2 separate regions of the Homo sapiens genome follow, and region 1 is linked to region 2. The links are contacts of gene promoters, found by promoter capture Hi-C in human tissues and cell types (Jung and others, 2019). All regions are on one chromosome and are shown on one strand. The core of a region is centred on a gene start or on the middle of the fragment in contact, and the rest is flanking DNA. Distances in the headings are between cores, read along the strand shown.

Evidence for each region. The method cuts DNA at HindIII sites, captures the fragments that hold promoters and counts their contacts. A contact is called where the count stands out against the background at its distance.
Region 1: a fragment that was not itself captured here is called in contact with the fragment with the promoter of PARP14 in region 2 in 1 of the 25 tissues and cell types used here (pancreas).

Annotation. Positions count from the first base shown.
Region 1 is chr3:122,290,123-122,292,822 of GRCh38, reverse strand. CASR (calcium sensing receptor) reads right to left here. Exons shown (of 7, transcript NM_000388.4): 7 at 1,194-2,700. Among named protein-coding and RNA genes, the nearest start is that of CSTA, 34 kb to the left of the region's middle. The HindIII fragment of the contact is 3,234 bases long and covers 1-2,700 here.
Region 2 is chr3:122,679,499-122,682,198 of GRCh38, reverse strand. PARP14 (poly(ADP-ribose) polymerase family member 14) reads right to left here and starts at 1,360. Exons shown (of 17, transcript NM_017554.3): 1 at 1,129-1,360. The coding sequence starts at 1,315. RefSeq lists enhancers at 622-711, 1,253-1,652, 1,077-1,849, 2,253-2,372 and a silencer at 963-1,012. The HindIII fragment of the contact is 18,937 bases long and covers 1-2,700 here.

The DNA of each region.
Region 1 (2,700 bases), core at 78-2,577, 390 kb after region 2:
ACTGCGGACGGGCTTGTTCAGTAGCCACTCTGACCCTCTTCTAGCAGGTCTTCCTCCACTATAGAGGCTGGGAAACAAATGCTACATTTCCAGACTCCTTGACAGCCAGGGCTCTGCATGTGGCTGATATGAGACTTGGAAAGTTGGTGTGAGTGGGGCCAAGCACAGGCAGAGGGATTTGGTTCCTCCAGCTTCAGTGAAGGTTCCAGTGTCCTGTTCTCTGTGTCTTGGTGCTAAGTGGAAGGCAGGGGAGGTTATGAAGCTTTTGCCAGAACACCCTCATAGGGGGATTAGGTATTTCTCCTGGGTGAATTGATCCTGATTGTATAGCAACTAAATTTGGATCACTGAGCCTCCCAAAATGTTATAAGCTTCCTAATACCATATAACAAGTACCTTTCTGCTTGAACTAGTTAGAGTGAATTCTATTGCCTCCAACTAAGAAACCTGACAGAAGAAATCATTGCATTCCATGGTACTTCCTGAGATTTCAAAAGCAAATTCTCTAAGCTTCAGTCACCCATGGTTTTAATAATTATTTATATTTTGCCTATATTCCTGAAGTTCCTTTCAAATCACTTGTTTTATTTGGCAAACAACCATAGTTGGTAATTATGGCAGGTAATAGTCTATCTACTTTTCTTTTTTTGAGACAAAGTCTGGCTCTGTTGCCCAGGCTGGAGTGCAGTGGCTACATCTTGCTTCATTGCAACCTCTGCCTCCTGGACCCAAGGGAGCCTTCCACCTCAGCCTCCCAAGTAGCTGGGATTACAGGTGCATGCCATCATGCCCAGCTAATTTTTTGTATTTTTTGTACAGATGAAGTTTCACCATGTTGCCCAGGCTTGTCTCACACTCCTGACCTCAAATGATCCTCCTGCCTTGGCCTCCTAAAGTGCTGGGATTACAGGCATGAGCTACCATGCCTGGCCTATGTACTTTTCATAGTGGAAAGTGAGACAAAGAAAGCTTAAGTGCCTCATCCAAAGACGTGTAACTTATCTGTCATACTGCCTAGAATCCCCCTCTTTTCCACTATTCTATGTCCTCGGCCCGTTCAGAAATTTAAAAGTCCCATGAAACTCTTGGGAGCTAATTAGAGCTCTGGAAAAATTTGTAGGAGGGGTGACTGACCCAATATGGTGATTCCTATCTAATATGATATGCTTATCTGTTTAAAATTTGGTTGCATGTTTATTTTAAATTCTTTTCTTTATTTTCCTGTTATAATTTTGTGCTTAATATACAAAACTTGGGAAAAATTTAGAAAATCCTAAAGAAGCAGAAACAATTATCCATTAGTCCACTACCAAGCAATCTTCATTTATAATGCTCATCATCACTGGCCATCAGAGAAATGCAAATCAAAACCACAATGAGATACCATCTCACACCAGTTAGAATGGCGATCATTAAAAAGTCAGGAAACAACAGGTGCTGGAGAGGATGTGGAGAAATAGGAACACTTTTACACTGTTGGTGGGACTGTAAACTAGTTCAACCATTGTGGAAGTCAGTGTGGCGATTCCTCAGGGATCTAGAACTAGAAATACCATTTGACCCAGCCATCCCATTACTGGGTATATACCCAAAGGATTAGAAATCATGCTGCTATAAAGACACATGCACACATATGTTTATTGTGGCACTATTCACAATAGCAAAGACTTGGAACCAACCCAAATGTCCAACAACGATAGACTGGATTAAGAAAATGTGGCACATATACACCATGGAATACTATGCAGCCATAAAAAATGAGGAGTTCGTGTCCTTTGTAGGGACATGGATGAAGCTGGAAACCATCATTCTCAGCAAACTAATACAAGGACAAAAAACCAAACACCACGTATTCTCACTCATAGGTGGGAATCGAACAATGAGATCACATGGACACAGGAAGGGGAACATCACACACCAGGGCCTATTGTGGGGTGGGGGGAGGGGGGAGGGATAGCATTAGGAGATATACCTAATGGTAAATGACGAGTTAATGGGTACAGCACACCAACATGGCACATGTATACATATGTAACAAACCTGCACGTTGTGCACATGTACCCTAAAACTTAAAGTATAATAAAAAAAAAAGAATAAAGAAAAATTTGGAGGAGGGGTGACTGACCCAGTATGGTGATTCCTATCTAATATGATATACTTATCTGTTTAAAATTTGGTTGCATGTTTATTTTAAATTCTTTTCTTTATTTTCCTGTTATAATTTTGTGCTTAATGTACAAAACTTGGGAAAAATTTAGAACATCCTAAAGAAGCAGAAACAATTATCCATTAGTCCATTACCAAGCAATCTTCATTTATAATGAGTGTATATTTATAATTTATAAGTTTCTCATTTATAATGAGAGGTCAGATAGAAACAAAACATTTAAAGAAAATCAGGACATTCTGAACAATAACCACATCTTTGGGTTGATATCAACGAAGACAATCACATTCTTCCAAAAACATTTCCTGATGCCTTTACAGGAAATCCTGTAATGACCCCAGGGTTTATTCTTGGGCTTTGATCTCTTACCTATTTTCACCAAACTTGAAAATATTTGCCATCCATGTGCTGAAACTTCAGTCACAGAGTTTGCTGCTTTTATTTGTTCTAACTTCCTGCGCTATCTAGTTACCCAGGTGCCCACATTTTAGAGGCAGGGAGCTGGTGCTGTATCTCTATTATTCCCCCCGCCT
Region 2 (2,700 bases), core at 111-2,610:
CAGTTGCCCTTCTGAGCACTCCTTGGTAAAATTAATCCTAGGAAAACATGGTATTTTGTTTTCATAAGGGCCATGAGCCAAGCATATCTCCTGTCCCCCTCCTTCCTTCCTTCTGTGCGCCATTCTTTTTCTGTTTCATTTTTCCTTTTTGGATCCCTGCTTGGGCACTCTAATTGCATGGCCTCAGCCTCAGCCTCCTTGCCTCTCCTCTGGCCCGAATGCTTCTCCAAATCTAGCGACATGAAAGCGGAATTAGGGGTTGACTAGATCCCGATAGGTCATCATCCATAAGATGCCAGTGGAAAAGGTGCCCATTCTGGGAGCTGCAGGTCACTGGCTTCCCATTGCAGACCAGGGAGGCCCTTGAGCCAGCAGATCACCTCTGGGCTCTTGGCCCACCAAGTAGTGGTGGGTCTGTAAGGAGGGAACTTTGCCGACTTTCCCTCCAAAGCTCAAATCTCCCAACCCACAATCACTTCAGAATATCATCCTTGCTCCCAATCTGAGGGCCACTAGAGACTCGGAGAAGAGGCCCCGGCAGGCCCTCGACAATGGGCACCTGTGGTCGATCGACAGCCCCTCCAATGTGGCCGCTGTGACGGCTCTACGTTGACATTCAGGCAGTGTGATTTTAGGTAGCGCCTCTGCCCCTCTCCCAAGTGACCCCGGGACCCCTGGGAATCTCCAAGAACCACAAGGAATCTCTGTGACTTGCCACGTTTCTTAATCAGTTTCCTTCCCCACACAAGAATAATAACAACAGGAAAAGACAGAAAAGGATGATAAGAGGATAGACTCACTTCCACAACAACAACAACAAACAATAACACCACCACAACAGGGAAAGACAGAAAACGATCGAGGGATAAAGAGTTACTTGCGCGGTTCCGCCGCCACCTCCGGGCCGCGCCATTAAGCGCCTGGAAGCGCAGGGCGCCGGGGAACCGCAGCGCCCCGGGTGCGCTCGGAATCCATTCTGCCGCCCCCGCCCCCGCCCCCGCCCCGGCCACCTCCGCTACAGCAGCCGCCGAAGTCGGGCGGGTCACCCTCCCGTGCGTGCCCTGCCGCCATTTCCCTGGAGGGAGGGCAGAGGTGCCCCCTCCTCACCCCACCCCTCGCGCCCCTCACCGTCCTCCGGGTAGAAGAACACCAGGAAGCGGGATGGGCTCCTGGGATCCTGGCGGACCTCACACTCGCCGCCTCCCGACCTCTTCGGGCTCTGGAAGTACATCTGCAACTTGGTGTTCAAGTTCTTCGGGGGGTCGGGGCCCCAGGAGCCCTCGACCAGCAGCGGGAAGGAGCCGGGCACAGCCATCCTCAGCTCCGCTCTCCGCCGGACTGCAGGGGCCGCGCCAACTCCGGGCCGCTAACTTTGACTCTTTCGCTTTCGTTTCCTGGAAAACTCCCAGGCCTTGGTTTCCTTTTGCCTTCAGCCTAACACAGCGGACCCAGGAATGGCAGAGTCATCCCCCGCCCACCTCCCCACCTTCGCATTCGGCCCACAGCCAAGGCCAAAGTAACCCTTTGGGGCTGGCCAGCGGCGCCCCGGGAAGGCGGCCTCAGTTCACCTGTGCTCCACGGGCTCCCACACCCCCTCCTAACTCCGGGCCCCCTACCTGCCGCTCGCCCCAACCGCAGATCAAGTCGGCAGCTTTGGGGCACCAGACCTTGCCCAAACGCAAAGATCATTTAATTTTTGCCGCAAGCCGACCCTTTACAAAAGAATAAAATGACTCACAAACTGTGGCCCCTTTAGAATGTTTGCTGCCTATTTGGGGACTTTTTCAGCAATCATTGTGATTATCAGAATTTTACGTTGCTTTCCCTGTTTTGCTTTCTGTTCCTTGATCTGTTAATACTACATGTCTAGAAATGTGGGGGAAACAATTACACTCACAGTTTTTTTTGTGGAATATTTACTAGGCGCCATGCACTCACTCACTGAACCCTCGCTGAGCTCACGGAGCTATGGTGAACACAGTGGGCAATAGGTGCTCTGGGAAAGAATATACTTGTGTTCCTGGAACAGATGAGGAGTGGCTCCTAGTCCAGCTGTGGCGGCTCAGGGAGGGTTTATAGGGCGGTGACATGTAACCTGATAACCCCAGGATATCAGGGGATAGCCTTGGAGGGTTAGGAAGTGGGGTTCCACGGTGTGATTCACATGTACAGGATCACTCCGGCTGCTGCGTGGTGGCTAGAGTGGAGGCAGAGAGATCAGCCAAGTGGCTACCATAGTGTCCTAAGTGAGAGACAAGGGTGGCTGAGACTGGGGTGCTGGCAGAGAAGAACTGAGAAAACGAGGATTCTCAATTAATAGTGAAAGCAGGACTTGCTGAAGAATGTGAGCCTTGAGAGAAGGAGAAGCTCAAGGATGACTCCATGGTCAGCCATGGATGGCCCGTGCAAGTGGCTGGATAATAGTGGCATCTGCAAGAGGGGAGGCCGAGTGATGGGAGAGAAGCTGGGGCTGTGTGTTTCCTTGACCCCAAATAAAGCAGTGTTGCAAGTCGAGGGGGGCGGGGGGATTATCATTCCAGTGCTACCGATACCTCAGGTCAGAGAAGTGTCTGCTGGACTGCTGAGGAGCGGCAAGCATAGTCTCCTGGTGAGGAGGGAGGAGAGGGAGATGGCAGCTACTGAAGACTGAAAGGGAGGGAAGGAAGTGGAAGCAGAGAGCGTAACACGCTCTTTGCAGAA